Regions from separate parts of the Homo sapiens genome. Here all the other regions are linked to region 1. The links are contacts of gene promoters, found by promoter capture Hi-C in blood cells and fetal thymus (Javierre and others, 2016). All regions are on one chromosome and are shown on one strand. Each heading gives the region's core, a stretch centred on a gene start or on the middle of the fragment in contact. The rest is flanking DNA. Distances are from core to core; before and after follow the strand shown.

Region 1 (2,992 bases), core at 1-2,500:
TCTATCACCGGCAGGTCCTCAGTTAGGTACACGCCTGTCTTGCTTGGGTGTCAACGACAGGAAACTTAGCTATCGCTGGATGTCTGCTTCCGCCACTCCACAGCAGGTGGTATCCAGAGTGTGTAAGCAAGGTCAGGGGTGCGAAATTTGGAGAAGAAAACTCAGAGAAAAATGCAGACTGCTTTTTTTGGAAGGGGTGTTTTCAGTTGCAATTTCCATACTGAGGAGCTAGAAATTGGCTGGTAAGGTCTAGACATTAACTTAACTAAACGTGCATTCCTCCTCTTGAATTTGGACTTTATAAGGAATTTGGATTGTATAACCACACGATGGAAGCTGCGAGAGGCTTCTGAACAAGGTACTGACGGCGACCAGCTGTGATGACTAAAAAGACGATTCTGGTGGTGGTGGATACGGTGGCTGGAGATAAGAAAAACCTCGGTTCAAACGAGATCTGAATTTACCCACTAACTACGACCACGAGGAGTTTATTCCTTTATCTTTCCGTTTTCTCTCTCTCCCGAGAAGTGTCAAAAACAGGATTTGGAGGTGGCAGGATAATGGCCAAAATGGGTAGACAAGGTGGCGAACGATTCAACCAGGCTCTGGGCTTGGCGCATGGTGGGCGGTGGCGCCCACACCTGGGCCTGGGAACCCGCCGCTCGGGCATCACTGGCTGCCGCGGCGACCGGCGAGGACACATGACCGAGGAGCGAAAGGTCAGAAGACAAGGGGACTGTTACAGGAGCAGGGGAGCCGCCACTGGCTGCTAAGGCCGTGCAACTGGCGCCGAAGCGCACGATCTCCGCCCGCCCCGCAGCGCGTCGGGAACTGTAGTCCCTCCCTCTCCTGCTCCCTGGCCCAGGACGGGCTCCGGGACAGCGCCTATCCCTCTAGCTGTAAATCACGCACTTTCCTGTCCTGGACGCCGGGTCCTTCCACTTCTCAGGCGTCTGGAGCTTACGTCACGGGCGGGTCACCGCCCACATAGCGGAGGCCTTTAGGTGTCTATGGAAAGCCTGTCGTACAGCAAGGTGGCAATAAAGGATCGACCCTTAACAGTGGTAGGAATGCACCTTCGATCCTTCTACTCCTATTGGCTGCTCCTCTGTGGGCGTCTCCCCCGCCGCATAGCACAGCTCCTCTCCCGGTGTTGCTCAGGCAGCGCCTTAGGCAGCCCCGCGCCCAGGGGAGGGGCGGGGCGAGCCAGGGCGGGGCGGGGCGAGCCAGGGCGGGGCGGGGCCCTGACTGGACTGCGTCGCGCTCGGGGGCCGCGCCGGGTAGCGTTTCTTTTTAGTGCCTGAGGCAGCTCTGGCTCGGAGAGCCTTTTGCTAGCCCCACGGGGACCTCTGTGCACGGATGGACCCGCCCGGACCTGGCGGGAAGCGGCCTGGCAGGCGGCGGCCCCGGCGGCATCAGCAGAGACAGGACGGGGCCGACGCCGCGGGCCCCTGAGGCGTGCGTGCCCACCGGGCCCGGCGGCGGCACCATGATGCCGGGCGAGACCCATTCGGCGGCGCCCGGGACGGCGGCGGACCTGTCGCGATGTCAGGGCTGCGCCTCTCTGCAGCAGGTGCAGCACCTCCCGGGGCCCCGGGCGCGGGGGGGGACTCGGCTCGGCCGGCCGGGAGCGCAGGGATGTGGGGTCCGGCCGCGCGGGCTGTGCCTCAGTGCGCTGCTCTCCCTTCCCAACCGTAGCTCTTGCTCGCTCGTCTCTCTGCTCTCTTTTTCCTACATGAGTTTTGGGGACGGCTTTCTTTGCTTTATTTAAGCTTGAAACCCAGAGTTCATTGACTGGAATGCGCTGGTGTAACGGTGGGGGTGGAGTAAGCGAGGTTTGGAGGGCCCCCCACCTTCCCTACCCGGCCTCGGAGCTCCCTAGGGCAGACTCCGTAGGTCAGTGAGGGACAGGTGAAACGCCGAGGGCAGTTATCTCCCTGAGGATAACGCTTTGGTCTTCTGGCCCATCCTGAGTATTTGTTGTTTGGAGGCAGAATCTTACGTGACATGTGGGTTGTCTGAGTCTTAGACTCGAAGAGTCTAGGGAGGCGTTTCAGCTTATAGCAGATGTGCCATCCCGAGGCTAATTTTTTAAAAAGCAAGCCAAGTAATTGGTCAAGTAGCTTGTCAGTTGTTTGATAAAAGTAGTTTATGAAAGGCATGCAGAGACTGGAGGTTTCTAACAGCGGCGTGGGCTCTTCTTTAGAGTGACATAAGGGAGAATTGCTAGAGTATGGCTCCAGATCTTATGGGGTGGTACTTGGGCAATAGTGCCCCTCATTTCCCACGACTCTCCTAGCTGCCTGATGTCGGGGGTCTCTTTTAACTTCCTACTATCGCGGTTTCAGTGATAAAACGGAACTCACCAGCACCTCATTACCTACTCTGCCTAGTGTTCTAGGAACTACAGACATTGTGGTGAACAAAATAGGATCTCTCATAAGTAAGATGCATATGTGTGAATAAGGCCTCAGAAGATTTTAGGTGTTAGAAAATAAAGGAGGATGTTGGAATATTGGTCTTGTCTCTTAGCTAGAGTAGTCAGGTAGGGAATTTTTGAGTCAGTAACTTTCAGATATTTGAATAATGGGAAGGATCGGGCTGTCAGAAGAGATGTGGGAAGAGCTTCCTGGATAGAGGGATTAACAGGTGGAAAGGTTCCTTTGGTGAGAAGGAGCAGGGTGTCTTTGATGAGCAGAACATGGTATGGTTGGCATGAGCATAGTGCACACGGAAGATGGTTGATGAGACCAGACGGGAGTGCAGGCTAGGTAGGCCATGCCGAGAAACTTGGTTTGCATTTTAAGTGCAATATCTGTGAACTGATTGCAAACATTTTAAGTGTTGAAGGAAGGGGAGGAAGGAAATGTGCTGCTTTTGTGAGTAGAAGGAGAACTAACAGATCATTGCCTTCACTGAGCTGCATTGTGTAGGTATCTTATAACGCCCCCCCGCCCCCGCCACCACCACCCCAGGAACGTGATTGGAGTTC
Region 2 (2,992 bases), core at 344-2,843, 970 kb after region 1:
AGTGGCGGGCGCCTGTAGTCCCAGCTACTTGGGAGGCTGAGGCAGGAGAATGGCGTGAACCCGGGAGGCGGAGCTTGCAGTGAGCCGAGATCCCGCCACTGCACTCCAGCCTGGGCGACAGAGCGAGACTCCGTCTCAAAAAAAAAAAAAAAAAAAAAAAGAAACTAGAGCCATTGTACTTTCCCACCAAGGAGCTCATGACCACACTGAGCCCTCAGTGACCCCAAATGGCATTTCTTATGTCCCCCTGGCTGTCTAAAGTGGAGCTCAGGTATGGCCAGGAAGGGACGCAGCCCCAGTACTTCTTTGGTATATGACTTTGGCCCATTTCTAGAATTGTCTTGGTCTTCAGTGAGATGGAGCAGGGACTCCTCCTAGGGGCCTGCAGGTCACCCCCTGCCCAGTGAAGAAATAAAGAAAACTCTTAAGTTCCTTCAGGAAAAATTCCAGGCACCTAGCTCACACTGAAAAATAACTGAATAAACAAAAAGATAATAGTAGCTTAAAACAGTAGCCAAAAAAGTTAGTCAAGAGATATGTTATTCCCTATAAAAACTGAAAATAACACCTTAACATATGTCCCTGAGTTATTTTTCAAAAACCTGAACCCCCACCAAACAGATTTGCTAACACATAGACCTCAAATTAAGGGAAACTAAAAACTAAACTCTGGTCACTGTTCTTTGTTCTAAATTTCTTCCTAAGGGGCCTGGGAACGTCACACCCACAAGTTAGAGCTATCAGTTTGGTGCAAAAGTAATTGCAGGTTTTTTTTTTTTTTTTTTTTGCTGTTACTTTCAGTGGCAAAACGTGCAATTTTGCACCAACCTAATAACATTGTTTTCTGCTGATCCCACATTTTTAGACAAAGCTTTGCCTCCTTAGCCAATCACAGATCAGAAATCTTTAAATCCACCTATAACCTGTGGGCCCCCAACTTCCAGTTGTCCTACGTTTTTAGGTCAAACCAACGTATAGTCTCCATATTTGAATTTATGACTTTACTTGTAACCTCTGCCTCCACGTTGGTAAAAACCCTCACCTATGAGCCATCTGGGAGTTGGGTCTTGAACATGGGATGCCTGATTTTCCTTGCTTGGGGCCCTACATAAACGCCTCACTTTCTCTTGCTACTATCCCAACATCAGTCTTTGACTTCGCTGCACCCAGTGAACAGATCCCTGCTGGATTCACTTACATCAGATTTCTCCTCCTGGAAATAGAAGAAATGTGCCTATTGATGTGTGGAGCATCTCGCATGGCACCTGGAATGTAGAAGGCATTTGGTAAACGTGGCTTCCTTCTATCAGTTTCTACCCAAAATGTGCAAAGCCAAGCTTTCCTTTTTGTGCTGTATACTGGCTCCTTCTTCCAAAAATGTATTTGATGATGTCATTCCTCAACCTAAAACCTCCTGACATCACCCCGCTGTCTACACCAGGGATGTTAAAATCCTCTCTCTGCATAGCCCCATCCCCATGACCATGTACTCACTCTATTACCCCAATTCTCTGGGTGAGGCAGGAGGAGAGGAGTGGGTGCATGTGCCCCTGGCAGAGGGAAAGGATTCTCGGAGGGGTGAGACAAGTAGTGTGAAAAGAGTCGACCTCCAGGAAGCTGCTCTGCAGCCCTCATTTCTCCTTTGAGAATCGCTGGTCCTCAGAACAAGTTCTAAATCCTTACCACCTGATCTGATACCACCTTCCCACTGACCAGTGCCCTACAGCCTCATGGGACCCTCACCAATCCCGCCTCTTTGCCTTTGCTGGTTTCTTTTCTCTGCTTTAAAGTCTTCTTCCATACCTTCTGCTTTACTTGGGGAAATCTGAAATAAATGTCAGCATGTTGGTGAAGCTTTTGCTTACTGCCTCAGGCAGAATTAATAGCTTCCTGGTCAGCTCTGACACATCTGGGCCCTGTTCCCTCCTCAGAGGTAGAGAATCTGCTAGAGGCTGAGAACCGTCTCCACCTTTAGACAGAATGCGTTTAGTGGTTACTGCCTGCATCCCAATGAAACCTGCTCTGCCCTTCTGCCATAGAAATGGAATTGAAGCCAGACCCATTGCTACCCACTGTCTGTGTTTCCCGTTGGTATGGTTTGGCTGTGTCTTCCCACCATTCTCATCTTGGATTGTAGTTCCCATAATCCCCACGTGTCATGAGAGGGACTCGGTGGGAGGTAATTGAATCATGGGGGCAGTTTTCCCCATGCTATTCTCATGATGGTAAGTTCTCATGAGATCTGATGGTTTTATAAGGGGCTTCCCCCATCACTCGATTCTCATTCTTCTCTCTCCTGCTGTCTTGTGAAGAAGGATGTATTTGTGTCCCCTTCTGCCATGATTATAAGTTTCCCAAGGCCTCCCCAGACCTGTGGAACTGCGAGTCAATTAAACCTCTTTCCCTTATAAATTGCCCAGTCTCAGGTATGTCCTTATAGCAGTGTGAGAACAGACTAACACACCCAGGCTTCCCTGAAGTGAGCTGTGGCCTTTGCACTAAGGGATGGGAGCAGGAATGATGGGTATCTGCTCGGGGTGGGAACATGAGGCATCAGGTGCATCTTCTTCAGGCTGTCCCTGATGTGCTGGTGATTGGTCCCACCAGGCAGGTGACAGTACCCCAGAGCAGTGGAACACTCTGAGATAATAGAAGTGTTTTGAGATCTGTGCTGTCCAACACGCGAGCCACTAGACACTTGAGCTATGGCTAGTGCAACTAGGAACTGAAATTTCAATTGTCTTTAAATGTATTTAAATTAATTAAAATTAAAATAGTCACATGTCACCAGCGGCAACTGTATCAGCCAGTAGAGCCCCTGAGGATGGAGGAGCAATGGTTTGGAAGGAACATGGATCTTAGAATGCCCAGTGGAGCAGAGATTCTCCACCTAAATGGATTACTTATCTCAGAACAGTTGAGTGAGAGAAAAACAAGGCAATGTTTTAGGACAGTTAGGAAGATAGTATCAATAGTATGACATAATGGGTAT
Region 3 (2,992 bases), core at 181-2,680, 930 kb after region 1:
GAGGCTTGCTCAGTGCCAGCCCTCTCTGCTGCGGCAGCTCCAGCCTCCGCATCCTCCAGTGTCCAGCACAAGCACAGTTTCCCCACCTGGACCCCATTGCTGGCCTTCCCATGCTGATTTGGAGTGACATCAAGACACTCACACAGTGGCCAAGGAGAAGTTGAAGGGAGGTTTCTGAATGCATCTTTCCTCCCAAACATGCTGAGCAGTTCTGCAGGGCAGAACCAGGTCACTGCACATCCCCGTGTGTCTTTATTACGATTGCTTATAAAATGAATAAACGGTCTCCCATCCGAGTACTAACCAGGCCCGACCTGTAGTCCCAGCTACTTGGGAGGCTGAGGCAGGAGAATTGCTTGAACCTGGAGCGCAGAGGACCGGCTCGAATGTGAAAACATGGGCAGGTATTTGCTAGCAAGACAGGGAACAAGCGGCTTCCTGATAATAGAAACAGAGGCGGGGGCGATGCTGAGACCTGACCCCACAGTGGTCCCTGAAGAACGAAGGGTGGGCACGGCGACGTGAGGGCCTGGGGGGCCCAGGGAATGCGGTGGGACCCTGGAGGGCACGTAGCCACGCTGGGCAATTGTGATTGGGCTGCCACGCTGGCCTCCAAGCATCGCTGAGCACAGGGGCCATGATCAGAGGTGTGTTTGCGCAAGGCCATTGCAGCAGGGTGAGGAGGGTAGATTTGGACGCGAGTGGGAATGAGGTGAGGGAGGGATGAGGGCGGGTCAGGTGGTTGCTGCGGTCAAGTCCTGGACAGCAGGAGCAGTCTCCAGGGGTGCCTCAGAGCGGACTCTAAAGGCCATCGTGTACATCTCCTCAGCTGCGGTACAGACTACCCCAAGCCAGGCAGCTTAAAACAACAGAAATGTATTCTCCCGCAATTCTGGACCGCTCGGGTCCAAAATCCAGGCGTCGACAGGGCCGTGCTAGGGCTGGAGGCTCTGGGGGAGAATCCAGAATCTGCTCCAGGTCTCTCTCCCAGCTCCCAGGGGTGCTGGGAGCCCTGGAGCCCTTTGGCTGTGGACTCATCCCTCGGATCTCTGCCTCTGCCGTCCGTGGCCTTCTCGCTGTGTGTGTTCACATCGTCTCCCTCCGCCTGTGCTGTCTCTGGGTCTCTTCTCCTCTTGTAAGGGTAGCATTCAGGGGCTTAGGGCCCACCTTAAACCAGTATAACCTCATCTTAACTTGATGACATCTGCAAAGATCCCATTTCCAAATAAGGCCACATTCACAGGTATCACGGGTTAGGGCTTCGACATGTCTTTGTTGGGGACCCAATACCACCCGTAAGAGGCCTGGTGCTTGGCGGGGGCTGCAGGAGGCAGGGCAGAGCAGGGCTTCAGCCAAGGGCCAGGTTGGCCCGGAAGCTGGTTCGATTCCCTGGAAGGGGCCGAGGGCAGGAGGTACTGTTCCGTGTGGCTTTGGGGCTTCCTGCTGCAACGGGCTCCGGGCAGAGAGGCCTCCGCTGCCTGCCAAGGTTTTAGTTGCTGCCGCTTCTCCCTTATGTTCCTCCAAATCTCCCGCTGCCCCCATCTGAACCTCAGAAGCATGCTATGGGGGCAGGGGTTCCCGGTCCTCAGCTTCAGGAGGCTGGATCTACTCCTAACTGGGGTAATCTGTTTGCTTCTTTCCCAGGGGACAGGTTCCCAAAAGGCGTACCCAGAGCAGAAAGCTGAACATCTAACCAGTCTCTGCCTCCTGATGCAGACCGATGTTGTGGGAAGACCCGAGAGTCAGGACCCAGGCGTGTGAGAGTCCAGCCCCAGTCCTGCCCTGCAGGGCCTGTTCCATCTCACCGGGCTCCAGTCTTCTCACCTAGAAAATGAGGGCTTCTGATGCAAAGTCTCTAAGGAGCTTTTCAGCTTTAAAGCGTTCTGAATCCCATTTTCCCGCTGACTGACATTCTAATTTCACAGCGGGCTTATCTCCCCCTCAGAAGGGTCTTCAGCCGCAGCAGGGCCTTCCGTTTTTGCTTAAATCGCTCTGACCTTTTTATCAAGCAGTTCATAAACGCCCTTGCGCTAGGAGCGGCCGTCGCCCTGTGGTCCCCGGAGAGGGTCCTCCGAGGACTCTGAAAGCCGCTTCCATGGTTGGCGCCGAGCACAGGCGGCTCCCTCTGGCTTCCGCAGGCACGGACGGGGTTTGCCCAGAGACACCCTGCTCAGCACTGCCAAGCTGGAAAACAAGTGGGTGGGGGCAGCCGCCGGGAGGGGCCAGCAAACCGGGCCCTCATCCAGGAGCAAATTCCACCTTCAGTGCCTCACTTTTATCTCCAGATGGGCGCGTCCTTGTGAGAAACCACAGTATTGTCCCTCACCCATGAAGGGAGGCGTGGACGTGATCCCAAAGCCCCTATGTTAGACGGTCCAGCCTCACCTGAGCAGTCACATGGACCTGCCCGGTCCTTTGACCTCAACACCACACACTTCCCACCCCTGCGGCAGGAAGGCGAGGCAGGAAGCATCCACACAAACCTGAGTATATCACAGTGGCACCACCAACGTGCCGGCTGCAAAGTTGATTTTCTAAACCAGAGGCAGCAAAATGGACCCGCTGGGGAATTCTTGTATCTTGCCTAGCATTTATATTAATATTTGGGGGTATCATTTAATTGATTAGTCATTACTGCATACAAGGTTATAAGAGTCGAGAAGTATAAAATCTATATGTTAAAATTTTAAGAAAAAAATGTCAAGTAGAACTAGCCAGACTGACATCATTAATCTGGTACCTGCACACACTTGTCTTATAAAGTGCGAGGAAAATGGATATTTTTCTTACATATTATGCAATTATGTATGGCATATTACCTGTCTCTGTAGCTTGAAAATCATTACACTGGTCAAGCTGTCCCACTAGTAAAAGCAGACGACCACTTCATAGGTTAAAAAGACATCTGCAAGCTATTTAATACTAAGCTTCATTCCATTAACCTTCATTTTTGTCTCAAAATAATCCTGACCATTTAATATATAACCCCTCA
Region 4 (2,992 bases), core at 176-2,675, 540 kb before region 1:
ACCTGCCCCGTGTTGCCCCTCCAGATGGACTCGGCACTCAACTCTGCCAGAAAATGCCCCGGGACATGTTTAATAGATGATTAGAACTAGTTGAAGTTTTATTTTTTGTGACTACTTTGAAAATGCAGGACTATCCAGAACACTAATAGAGGATGAACAAAACCAGCTGTTGATATGTGGACATCCGTCCCTCTCTAAAATACTTGGCCTGCCACACACCAGAGGGAGTTCTCACTGATCTTAGATTCCTCAGTATGCCAAAGATGAGATCTTCCTAAACTTTTTGCTATAATTTGAAGGAGCATGACAAGTGAGGGCAAAACAAATTATACAAAAATTCTGAGCTTCGCACACTTCCTATGTAGAATGTTAGCCATGCAAGTAGCCTGACAAGGGTAGCCACGCTAACCACCAGCCCTTCCCTGGCACTTACAAGGGTAGCCACACTAACCACCAGCCCTTCCCTGGCACTTACTGGGGTACTAATGCGCTGGTAAAGTTAGGAGAGTCTGGAATGGCATAGCCATAGATATTGCCCAATCTGCTCCCATGAACAATGTCCCCTGGCCAAGCCGCCCTGTTGCTTGGAATCAAGGAATCGGGTGCAATGTCAGCTGATCCCTGAGCAGTGGCCTTCCACAACCCCCAGCCCCTGAAATGATGCAAACAGGCAAATTGCATCTTCCTTCTGGAACCAGGGTCATCCCACCCTCTTGTTACTACACAGCCAGCCTGCCCCAGCCCCTGGGTGGATACTCAGTTCCTGAATGTGACTCTGTGGGGCCACATGACGCACGGTGTCTTCCATCCTGGGAATGTGAGTGGATGTGACTAACATACCACTGCCAGCTGCATCTGCCCCGTGCTGGTGTGTGTTTGGCCATCTTCATAAGCCTGGAGCAGGACTTCCTCCCTCACCAATGGGATGAGGAGGAGGCCATTGGAAGCTCTACTCACCAGGTCCTGCAGAAACTCACAGTCCTTGAGGAAGCAGCCAACTTGGAAACATAAGGCAAGAGAGAGGAGTCCCACACTGATGGCAGGCAGAGAAAACAGTGATTTCTGAAGCAAAGCTAAGAGAAGAGGTGACCTTTGAGATGGATGTTGAAGCCAAAAGAGGTGGTCCCCAGACAGACCCAGGGCTGGAGGGCCAGGCTGGAAGGGCATTTGTGGCACAGGACAACCACGTGCATGAATGTGACAACCAGGAGGCAGCTCAGGGCCCTGCTGTTGTGCCCTTTAGCACTCCACGGTGTGGAAGTGTCTGAATCCAGATTCTGGCAGTGTCTTTTCAGTCCACACTCTTGGGGGCAGCATCTGGGTATAAGCTCAGAGGTAGCATCACCCTAGGTGGCAGGAAAACATTAAAAGATGGTTCTGAGGCCTGATTGACAAGAACCTGCCAGTGTCCCACGGATAGGGTGGCTGGGCCTTGTTTGTCATCATGAAATGGTACAGGGTAGAGACTTATCTGAAAAGTTTGACTCCAGGCACTGTAGGTTGACTGTGTTGTTCACTGACCTCCCAATGTCTTCACGGGGTCTTTGATTACCTGCACTATAAAGTCTGTAGACCTTCAGCATCTCACTTCTGACAGAACTGTAGATGTAACTTTTCAGAATCCATATGAAATATTAACTACTACTCTGAGGGAGGTGAGGGGATTGCATTCTAGCACATTTTAAAATACAAACGGGGACACAAGCAAAGAAAGGCAATGTCCTCAGGCATCCAGTGCCGGGAACAAGACACATCTCAAGTGTGCAAGCCAAGGGTACCCCGTTATTATCACAGAGGAGCAGAGTTCAGCGGAGTAATAGAAGTGTCACCTTGGAAAGGCAGGGCTGGATGCATGCACAAATCAGGATGTGAATCCTGGATTCACATTCAGTGCATGATTCTCGCTCACATTACTGTGCCAATAACTTTAATTTAATAAGCCCATGTGTCAAGGGCCACTTCAGATCCGTCACAGCTGCTGCCTCCCCTCCCTGGTTCCTTGGAAAAGCTCAGTTCTCTGGCTGGCTGCTCCCTCCAGCATCCGCAGAAGGCTGTGTGCTCACACTAGCTGCCTGCACTGACACTTCTGGAGGAGGAACTCAGCATTTCCACAGGTCACTCTGGCTATGATGGCCCAACTCAACCCTCATGACAATGAGCGTGTACAAGGGTGTTCCTGGGGACCTTACCCTGCGGTGAGGAAAAGTGCTGAGCATGCAGGGAGAAAAAGAGAAAACAAATACACGAATCACTTTAATTTGATGCCCCAAATAAAAACTGCTCAAAATGACATTTAAAGGAGGCATTACAGGAGCAAGTTTTATGACTAACCCTTTTACCCAAGAGTAGGCAACAGAAGGGAGACAAAGGTTATTTTTAAGAAATAGTAATGTAATTTAAGAAAACAATATTGAAAATGAATTAATATTGGTACTAACATTTAACTGGGGCTTGCAGACAATAGGGAGGAGAAGCAGGTTTGCAATGGATGTGTTGCTTATGACCGTGCTGTTTATGACTGGCCTAACAAAGCCAGAAACCTGGCCAGGAGAAGGAACGATATTTTCCAAAACATCACAGACGATTCGGACCCTTAAGTGAATGGGTACAACAGAATCAGAGGAAAGGAAGGGTTTAGGTGACCATGAGGCATGGGGAGCATCACAAGGAGAGACATGGCAGAGCCAGCATTTCTTCAGGGCTGTGCCAGCCCCTAAGCACCTGAGCTTCCTGTGCGTGGGGTCCAGCCAAGTGTTTCAGATAACAATTTCTGAACTGTTGTTTGTTTATTTTGTTTTTTTAACCCAGCAATCTATGAAAAGGCCAATACTCTTGAGAATAACTGCACCCACACTCTGCAGTGAGACCTGCATGTACTTAATCTGGAGCAAACCCAGCTGTAGGTAACACAACCCCAAGGCACACACTGCATTCCAATCTTTGGGGCTCTGCAGGCTGGTGTGCTCTCAGTGTCTGCTAGAGGGCCAGTCTT

Evidence for each region. The method cuts DNA at HindIII sites, captures the fragments that hold promoters and counts their contacts. A CHiCAGO score of 5 or more calls a contact.
Region 2: a contact is called between a fragment that was not itself captured here and the fragment with the promoter of ICE1 in region 1, in 9 of 17 cell types (naive CD8 T cells, naive CD4 T cells, total CD8 T cells and 6 more). The highest score is 12.5, in naive CD8 T cells.
Region 3: a contact is called between a fragment that was not itself captured here and the fragment with the promoter of ICE1 in region 1, in 1 of 17 cell types (activated CD4 T cells). The highest score is 5.7, in activated CD4 T cells.
Region 4: a contact is called between a fragment that was not itself captured here and the fragment with the promoter of ICE1 in region 1, in 2 of 17 cell types (M1 macrophages and endothelial precursors). The highest score is 8.8, in M1 macrophages.

Annotation. Positions count from the first base shown.
Region 1 is chr5:5,421,427-5,424,418 of GRCh38, forward strand. It overlaps ICE1 (interactor of little elongation complex ELL subunit 1), which reads left to right and starts at 1,251. Exons shown (of 19, transcript NM_015325.3): 1 at 1,251-1,573. The coding sequence starts at 1,490. It overlaps LOC101929200 (a long non-coding RNA gene), which reads right to left and starts at 703. Exons shown (of 6, transcript XR_001742583.3): 1 at 1-703. RefSeq lists enhancers at 1-497, 498-1,008, 874-1,123 and silencers at 1,154-1,483, 1,544-1,683. The HindIII fragment of the contact is 2,607 bases long and covers 1-1,770 here.
Region 2 is chr5:6,388,746-6,391,737 of GRCh38, forward strand. No RefSeq gene overlaps it. Among named protein-coding and RNA genes, the nearest start is that of MED10, 12 kb to the left of the region's middle. The HindIII fragment of the contact is 517 bases long and covers 1,336-1,852 here.
Region 3 is chr5:6,347,329-6,350,320 of GRCh38, forward strand. No RefSeq gene overlaps it. Among named protein-coding and RNA genes, the nearest start is that of LINC02145, 12 kb to the left of the region's middle. The HindIII fragment of the contact is 2,989 bases long and covers 1-2,925 here.
Region 4 is chr5:4,881,590-4,884,581 of GRCh38, forward strand. No RefSeq gene overlaps it. Among named protein-coding and RNA genes, the nearest start is that of LINC02114, 110 kb to the left of the region's middle. The HindIII fragment of the contact is 8,088 bases long and covers 1-2,992 here.